Linked DNA regions of Homo sapiens: region 1 is linked to region 2. The links are contacts of gene promoters, found by promoter capture Hi-C in human tissues and cell types (Jung and others, 2019). All regions are on one chromosome and are shown on one strand. Each heading gives the region's core, a stretch centred on a gene start or on the middle of the fragment in contact. The rest is flanking DNA. Distances are from core to core; before and after follow the strand shown. Region 1 overlaps SLC12A1 (solute carrier family 12 member 1). Region 2 holds the start of SLC24A5 (solute carrier family 24 member 5).

Evidence for each region. Contacts are between HindIII fragments. The study calls those that stand out against the background at their distance.
Region 1: a contact is called between a fragment that was not itself captured here and the fragment with the promoter of SLC24A5 in region 2, in 2 of the 25 tissues and cell types used here (spleen and thymus).

What each region holds. Positions count from the first base shown.
Region 1 is chr15:48,302,776-48,307,588 of GRCh38, forward strand. SLC12A1 (solute carrier family 12 member 1) reads left to right here. Exons shown (of 27, transcript NM_000338.3): 27 at 1-1,303. The coding sequence ends at 110. Among named protein-coding and RNA genes, the nearest start is that of DUT, 26 kb to the right of the region's middle. The HindIII fragment of the contact is 4,732 bases long and covers 90-4,813 here.
Region 2 is chr15:48,118,079-48,123,062 of GRCh38, forward strand. It overlaps SLC24A5 (solute carrier family 24 member 5), which reads left to right and starts at 2,912. Exons shown (of 9, transcript NM_205850.3): 1 at 2,912-3,087; 2 at 3,779-3,958. The coding sequence starts at 2,967. The HindIII fragment of the contact is 7,987 bases long and covers 1,984-4,984 here.

The DNA.
Region 1 (4,813 bases), core at 1,206-3,705, 180 kb after region 2:
CCATATCGGATTTGTTGTATATGGCTTGGTTGGAAATCCTCACAAAGAACCTCCCACCTGTCTTACTAGTTAGAGGAAATCACAAAAATGTCTTGACATTTTACTCTTAAAACATGAAAGATTGGAATACATTTTAACTTAATGTAATGCATAATTAAGAAACATGTTCCAGTACTTTATGTTGTAAATCTGATCTATGGATATGCAAACCTCTGGAGAGGATCCTACCAGATTCTACATACATTGCATAATTTTTATCAGTTAATGCGAGCTTTTTTTTCTCTTCTCAGCTTAAGGGGTTGTCAAAGCCAATGTTATCCCTAGAAAAACATTTTTGTCACTGCTGTTGATAAACAAGAAAATCAAGGAAACTCATGTTGGCTTATGCTCATGAAAACCACCAATGTGATTGTAAACTTCTCCAGACAAACTTAACCTTTTGTTTCTTAATTTTTTGTTTTGAGTGTTTGCTTCTCAGCCCTGGTATAGGTCTCAGCCCCACAGCAGGATCTCAATAAATGCTTATTGACAGGCTGGCATAGTAACCACAGGTGGTTATCAAAGGAAAAGACCAATAGGCTGGGGAACATAATTATGCTTGGCCCCCTCAGAGGCTTATACCTCCAAAGCAGATTTAAAAATCAGTAACTCAAAACTTTAAGAAGTAGTTGAGTCTACAAAATATTCAAAGCAGTTACCTAAATAAGGTTATTTAATGTAACAGATTATATACTTAAAGTGATCTGAGCAATCATTGATAACATATGGCTTAAATTTGCTGCTGCCTGAAAAGTATATTAACTAGATTAGAAGACACCATATACTCCAATAAAATGAAATATATTCTATTCTCAATATATAAACTTTAATTGTACTCCCTATCAAATATTTTGAAATTTCCATCACGGCATTACTTTGCATATTTTTTTCTAATTAAATGGTTAGTACAGATGAAATCTTTATAGATGACTACTTGAAAACTAAGTGCTACAAATTTTCAAACCATTATTAAGAAATATATCCTGAATCATATATTTAGTTACTTTCTATAGTGATTGTATGGATTTAAAAGAATAATTAAAATGTGAAGTTGAAAAACTTGTAAAATTTGGAATATACAGATACTGATTTTTTTCATTTTTGTTAGTATACCTATAATACATAATCACATTGACAAACCAATGAAAATATTGATTTTCTGATGAATGGCTTGATTTTTCTCCTTGACATGTTTTGACTGTTCATTCTAACTGAAAACATATATGGGAAAATATGAACCTGAAATAAAAGCACTCAAATTCAATTGCTTTGGCCTAGGTCATGTTTTTACTTTCAGTCACTAAAATTGTGGTGCAATGGTGTATCAGATGTGAGCCTGAAGATTTCAGTCAGTGGCCTCATCTGCAGCTGCTTAAAGCTAGGATTCAAGATCAGGACTTCCTAACCCAGCCTCTCTGCTCAGAAGGATGACCAGAGAATAAGGGAGACCATCAGCAAAGCTTAGGCAGCTGGATATTCCTATTCCAAATCCAGGGCCACTGTGCTTAACTCTGCCCTTGATAAAACCCTTTCTCTTGAGCACTATGGACCTGAAATCCAAATGCCTAAACTCAGCTTCATGTGGGCCTGACACTTCTCTGAAATACTTGAGGGTCTCTGGGAAAGGTGAGAAGTAATATGACTTCTTTAACAGGACATTCTGGCTCTTGTTTCTTTCCCGGCTGCTGCAAGTTGGGCTCCTTGGGAAACAGACTCTGAGACAAAGTTTAGCATGATCCCCTGGGGATCAACACCTGAGGGAAGGAGGGGAAGAAACAGCAAACATAGAGGTAAGCAGTGAGCTGGGATGCAGGCCCAACGACAGCCTCTGCTGACCCTACAGAGAGTCATCCCAAGCAGGGCAGAAAGGGCCAGGCTTTTGTACTCTGCTTTTATCAGTTATTGCATGGGGGCTGCCTGGGAAGAGGTGTGACCTCTGGGGCAGGGGGGTGCATGGGGCAGCTCTGTGCAGCAGAGGCAATCCCCCAAGGGCCTGGCAGGGAAAGTCTATGTGCTGACAGCACTCCTAGCTGTTAGGGCAACAAGCTCTTCATTAAACAAGGTCTGGGTAGTACCGAAGGGACCATATAAAGTAGTAGAAACCGAGTTACTGAATTTCCAGAGGGCTAGTAGCAAGAAGATGGCTGAGTATAGCCCTTGGATTCCAGGTTAAGGGTTGGGTGGCTCTAAGGTACTAGAGATCTTGAGGTCAAGAGCAACTGTATTGGGAATAAATTCGGAGGGCAGAAAGTTAAAAGGATAGGGGCTACAGTCACATAGCAGCAGATTTATCCAGCCCTTGGTGCCCTGCTGTTGTCCTTTTCTTCACCCAACTCTATTGATCCAGCCACCCATCATGTCCATGTCTACACTCAGGTTTCTGAGCAAGAAGGAGAACATTCCACAGTCATGTGCATTGGTGTCCAACTGTCTCTGTCTCCTCACTTTGTGCATGTTTCTCAACAGCGTCCCCACCCTTTCCTCACCATGACTTCACCATCACTTTTTCAGTTGCTGTCTCTGCTCCCATCCCCACAAATATAGACATATTCATAGACATAAAATTTCTTTCATAGATAGTGCCATACTGGGAGCATTGTCCTATGAGTTTTTTACTTAACACTCAATTTTAGAAATATTTCAATGGAAGCTTTATTTATTATAATTATTATTATTATTTAGAGACAAAGTCTGGCTCTCTCACCCAGGATGGAGTGTAGTGGTGCAATTATAGCTCGCCATAATCTCAAACTCCTGGGCTCAAACAATTCTCTCACCTCTACTTCCTGAATAGCTAGGACTACATTCATACGCCACCACACCTGGCTAACCTTTTAAAATTTTTTTGTAGAGACAGGAGCTCACTATATTGCCCAAGCTGCTCTTGAACTCCTGGCCTCAAGCAATCCTCCCGCCTTGGCCTTCCAAAGTGCTGGGATTGCAAGCATGAGTCACCATACCAGGCCATTGATGGAAACTTTAAAAAGAGAGTATAAATTCTTGGGGACCACCATAACCCTGGTAAATTAGAATCTCTGGGAGTGGGACTGAGGGACCTGTATGTTCTGATGATCTGCAAGATTTTGGAACTAGTGCTTTGAGGGCAGTCCCTCCCATTTCCATGATTTGATTTCCACTACATGTTGGTGTCTCCTGAATTTACATTTTTAACTCAGATCTCTTCTAAGTCTCAGATCCATATATTTAAACACTAATTGTCTTGATGTTTCTCTCTAGGTGTCCTACCCTAAATGCAGATTGACCAGACTTTTGTAAAACACACACACATACACTGGAGGAATGGCATCTAATTCTCTTTCTCTCTCTCTTTTTTTTTTGACATGGAGTCTCACTTTGTCACCCAGGCTGGAGTGCCATGGCACAATCTCGGGTCCCTGAAACCTCCACCTCCCAGGTTCAAGCAATTCTCATGCCTCAGCCTCCTGAGTAGCTGTGATTAGAGGCACCTGGCTAATTTTTGTATTTTTAGTAGAGAGGGGGTTTGCCATGTTGGCCAGGCTGGTCTCGAACGCCTGACCTCAGGTGATCTGCTCGCCTTGGCCTCCCAAAGCGCTAGGATTACAAGTGTGAGCCACTGCGCCCAGCCTATCTAATTATCTTTCTCAATGCGTATCAGGTCTCCCCTGAAACAGCCGAGATCACGCCACTGCACTCCAGCCTGGGCAACAGAGTGAAACTTCGTCTCAAAAAAAAAAAATAAAATTTTTAAAAAACAGAAGAAAATCTGCATCACAGCAGAAAACTAAGAAAGGATGCCATTCACATGGTAATTTATTTAGAAATAAAATCATGCTATAGTTTACATGGGTGGAGACTGATGGAAGCAATCAAAGATCAGCTTACAATCAATGCTCCTGGGGAAAAAAAAATCTTAGGGAATAATTGCAGGAGACCCTGGGAGAATTCCAATAATCCTTCCCCGCAATTTGAAGCTGGAAGTGAGAATAGGCAGTAGGACAGGGTGGAGCACCTTCCTTAGGACCCATTGTGTTGGATACTGCAAGTATTCAGAACAGCTTCCCTGAGAGGTTGCATGGTATGCTTGGTGGGCATTGCTATGCAGCATCTCATGGATGCCTTTGGCAGAGGCATCAGAAAAGAAAACAACAACATTGTGTGTAAATCCCAATACATAAAGAGCATAAAAACATTAAAAATAATCCAAAAGAGAAGAGTAAAAAAATATTACTTAAAAAAGAGAGAAATTATACAATAATAGAATCCTACAATAGAAGAAAAATCAAACATGCAAGAAACAAATAGAAAACACAAATGTGTTCATCTTTCTTATTAACAAAATGACTCTCAAATTTAATGAAAAAATCAAACTCTATTCTATCTGCAAGCATTATATTCAGAATTAAATATAAAAAGGCTAAAAGTCCACAAGTGGAAGTGAAAAAAAAAGGCTAAAAGCAAAAGAATAAACAAAAATATACACAAACATTTAAGCAAAAGGAATAGAGTTGACAATATTAACTTCAAAGTTTAAGACTAAAAGAATTAGGAATGACAGGAGAGTATCATTTTATATTTATAAAATAGATATAGCCACAATGTAGCTATAATAATAATGCAGCATTCTGTAAACAAATAGCATAGTATTGACATAAATAATACAAAAAATTGTTGGAAACAAAAGGACAGTCCCAGAAAGCCAATTTTTGATTTTTTTTTTTTTTTTTTTTTTTTTAAGATGGAGTTTCACTCTTGTTGCCCAGGCTGGAGTGCAGTGGCACAATTTCTGCCTACT
Region 2 (4,984 bases), core at 1,662-4,161:
CTGCCACTTTACAAAAATGCAGAAAACAGGAACATATTGAACTATATCACAAGGACACGTCATCAAAATCAAAACTGTAGGAAACTCTACAGATCAAATGCCCTGGGCTTTTCCCAGAGACAAGTTATAAGAAACAGAAGAGAAAAAAAAGGTAGGACTATAGACTAAAAGAAAGTTAAAAGATACCTTTTTAAGGCAAAATTAAGTTATAGCATCATAAAGATGCACTGGATTACATCACGGACTATTAAAACTACACACATGAGGAAATGATTACAAGTCAGGAGAGTGGTTACTTTCAGAGAAAGGGAGGAGAGGAGACTGAGGCTCACAAAGGGGCTTCTAGGGGGGCTGGCAAACTTATTTATTTACTTATTTTTATTATACTTTAAGTTCTAGGGTACATGTGCACAACACGCAGGTTTGTTACATATGTATACATGTGCCATGTTGGTGTGCTGCACCCATTAACTCGTCATTTACATTAGGTATATCTCCTAATGCTATCCCTCCCCCCTCCCCCCACCCCACAACAGTCCCCAGTGTGTGATGTTCCCCTTCCTGTGTCCATGTGTTCTCATTGTTCAGTTCCCACCTATGAGGGAGAACATGCGGTGTTTGGTTTTTTGTCCTTGCGATAGTTTGCTGAGAATGATGGTTTCCAGCTTCATCCATGTCTCTACAAAGGACATGAACTCATCCTTTTTTATGGCTGCATAGTATTCCATGGTGTATATGTGGGTGGCTGGCAAATTTCTATTTCTTGACCTTGGATGTTTACAAGGGTGTTCATCTTATGAAAATAATAATAATATAGTAAACTATTCATGTATGTAGTTTTATCTGGGTGTTATTTTACAAGAAAAAGATCTTTAAGATGCTTTTGCAAAATGAAGAATGTGTGTGAAGCAAATCTAATTCATCTCCTAAAATCTCTTTTCGTGGTAAATCCATATTTAGATGGTAATTTGTTTAGACCAAGCATATGCATGTTCTGGCAATGTGTTTTCAAGACCATTCATTGCAAAGTAATCGATCTGCAAATGTTGATGGAGTACTAACTATGTGCAAGGCACTTCTGCTGTTCCATAGCAATTGGCTCGTACCTTCAGACACTTGCTCTCTCTCTTGAATTAGCTGACAATGTGCATTGGAAGCTTTCACTTTGGGTTTGAGCTTTTTATATTATTGGTATTTTATTTGTTTATGATGTTTTATGAATTGATTGAAGTACTGTGTGTTGAAGAGGAGAGGCTCGCAAGACACTTCCACTCAGCATAAAACTAAACGACCTCTTCCCTTAGTCTTAGCTAGCTGGCATGTAGGCCACTCCCCAGTGATCAGGGTGCTGCTTCCTGCGAGTGTAGACAGCTGGAACTCTGCTTGTTGAGAATCTGCTCTATACTGGGCTATGCTTTGGTGACTCATCATCACAGCCTCACAATCACACCATACATCTGAATATCTAGTTCCTAGAAATGACAGTTTTGGAGAGGTTTATAATGGATACCAATTCCCACAAAAAAAAGTAGTTTTTGAGACTTTCTTCCGACCCAAGATCACAAACATCAGGAAGCAACTTACTCCGTTCCATCAGATAAAGCTAGTTTCTAAATAGAAAACTTACTAGGCATATCAATTTTTGTGTTTTTTCTGCAAAGCAAAGGAACCATGAAAGTTGCAAAACTACAAAAATTTTTATGAACAAAAACGCTTCTATTTCAATTGAAAGAAAGAAAGAGAAAGAAAAAGAAAGAAAGAAAGAAAGAAAGAAAGAAAGAAAGAAAGAAAAAGAAAAGAAAAGAAAGGAAGAAAGAAAGAAGGAACGAAGGAAAGGAAGGAAGGAGGGAAGGAAGGAAGGAGAGAAAGAGGAGGAGGAGAAGAAAGGAAGGAAGGAAGGAAGGAAGGAAGGGAGGAAGGAAGGAAAACAAACAAAACAAAGAAAAAGAAAGGAAGGAATGAAGACGTCAGCCAGAGGTCGTTCTGAGCAAATTATTTGCGTTCATTTTTGTAATTCTTACCACAACCCAAATACAGGTGATCCCTGTTTTACAGATAGCAGAACTGTGTAGCAGAAAGGTTAAATAACATGCCAAAAGTCACATAACTAGTAAGTAGCAGTGCTAGGGCTCAAATCATGTGGTCTGGTTCCATAGCCTGTGCTATTAGCTATAGGTTACTACACTGCCAAAAGTTCTAAATATCTTGGCAAGCCTCATAAATGTTAGCATAGGGAAGATAGTAGTCTATATTTAAACACTACCTTGTACGTCAAATTTGCATTTTAGATAGCTCCCTCTGGCAGAAAGCACAGCCTATCAATGATCAAATAGCATCCACTCCATCTCAATAATTCTTGAAACTGTCAGCTACTCTCCATCCCCGTTGCCACAGCCTTGGTTCAAGCCACTATCATTTCTCAGCTAGACGATTGCAATGATGCCCTAACTGGCCTTTCTCCCTTTGGCCCTAACTGAAGATGAAGATGAGAGGCTAAAACAGAAATATGAAAGGATGCCGAGCTAGCCAAAGCATGTACATATATTAATATCAACCCAAACAACTTCTAGGGGAAAGGGCTGGAGAGAGATGGGAAGCAGTTGCAAACCCAACTTTTTACAAATCTAGAGAAAGTCAAAAGCAGAGCCAGTATGAAGACATTAAATAAAACCACACATTTTCATAAAGTACAAGCTGCCTTAATCTGCCCTTAGAGACTGTAGGCCATGGAAATAGCTATAGACAATGGTTGTCAGCTCTCCTCCGTCTCCTCCGGCCTCCCTGGAGATTGGGTCTCCTGATCAGAGAAGCTTGACTGGCTACACTCGCCCTTTCTCCTGTGCTGGCCTTGCTGAGATGTGCCCTGGGCAGGGTATTGGGCAGGAAGGAGACTCCTCACATGATCCAGTTTAATCCTCCTCTTCTCCCTTCCTGAAGCTGCACGCTGCAGTAAGAGCACAGCAGAAATGCAGACAAAAGGGGGCCAAACATGGGCGAGAAGGGCTCTGTTGCTCGGCATCCTGTGGGCCACTGCACATCTGCCTCTCTCAGGGACCTCCCTGCCCCAACGTCTCCCAAGGGCCACAGGTAGGTGGACATTGGGGTCAGTTAGCTCTGCAGCAGCAGCTGCTGCTGCTGCTACCACATACAGATGAAGGGACAAAAAGAGGAAAATTCTCAATGGGCTCACTTTTACTTACGCTTCTGAATTTTAGCATTTAAAAAGATATCAAACACTTTTGATCCTTCAAATAAGTTCTTAAATATACTCCAAAGTAATTCACAGAGATCATAGTAGGCCAAGTCTCCAGTTTTTGTTCTTGGAGACTTTTTGGTGAAAACAAAAAATCTTTCATCTTAGAAATTCTCTCTGCAACAGTGGATGGATTCTTTGCAGGCCTGTGAACAATTTAGGCTCTGCAATGAGAAAACGAAATTGTATAAACAATAGAAATCTTCATGTATCAGAGATACAGTTTCTACTTGGGGAAGAGAGATTCAGAAATAAAAACAAGGAGGAGTGATTTCATGATTTCCTCTTTTTAATTCTTCACCATCATCAACATATTTCATTAAGATATCTCTTTTCAGTCCCCCAAAAAAATTTTTTGAAAACTCTACAACTGTGTTATATTCAGAAGCGCTTTATACATTTTCAGTGGGTCCTTAAAATTCCACCCGGTTACCCCACACTTACAGATTTCTTAAGGAAGCTCTCTGTGGGCTTGGAATGTGTGACTCCAAACTCTTCAAACTTTCACCTCCTTTTCCTTAACAGGAAATAGCACCCAATGTGTTATTTCTCCATCATCGGAGTTTCCCGAAGGGTTTTTCACGAGACAGGAGCGCAGAGATGGAGGCATCATAATCTATTTCCTAATTATCGTTTACATGTTCATGGCCATATCTATTGTCTGTGATGAATACTTCCTACCCTCCCTGGAAATCATCAGTGAATGTAAGTGGCTGGAAAGTTGCCCTGTAACCTTCTGGGAGAGTGTGCCACACAGATATGACTGTCTTTGAAATAGCTCAGCAGCTGTCCTGTACTTCTCAACTGGTTGCAGAGCACCAGCTTCTTGTTGTGGGGTCCCGTGTCTTAAGGAACTGGTCGAGTGTGGTTTCTCTTGGTAGTTAATGTGAATCAGAGTTTCTTCAAGTTAGAACCCGGCAGTTATTATTTTTCTGCCTATTTCCAGAAATCTCTAGTTTGTCTACTGCCTGGATGTTTGTTATAAGAACTGTTCCAAGATTTCACTTGTATGTACTTTGTGTGCGCTCCTAATACAATGAAACTCCTAATATTTGCCATTTTATGCTTCAAAAAACTTTTTTTTATTTTTACTCTAAGCTCGCTATAACTTTGATTATAAAAAGTGATAAACAAATGCAATTAAGGACCACCCTCCCCATCTTCCTTTCCCAGCATCCTACCATTAAGGAAATTAATTGATATTTAAGAACCAATAAACAGATAGATGAATAAGTCCTGTATCCTAAGTGACCTTAGACATCAGATGACTGTAAAATCAGTTATTAAAAATTAAGAGCTCCATTTATTGGTTTCTGAAAATAAGATCAGCCGGTCCAAGCCTCTGAGCTCTGTTCCTTCAGCAGTATATGTTGCCCAGAATTCTGAGCATAGACCTTCACTGGTGCACTGGTCCCTAAACACCAGGATAGCAGTTATGTTCTGTGCCATATGAGCAAAAGTGTGTTTCTAGACTTGGTCTCATGTTTGGTTATTTATTTGGCTGAGCATGCCCACATTACAGCAAAAAGCAATGTCAAAATTAAGGATTGGGTTTCCTATTGCATATTCACAAGACTGCACAGTAACAGCAGCGTCCTCAACCTCCACCCACCGCCCCCGACACACACACATTGCTGCCATTTCTTTATAAAGGGAAAGAGCATGAATGTAAACTCTCCCTTTTCCCATCACCCCACCCCCAACCCCTGCTGAAATGCAAAGCGAATTATT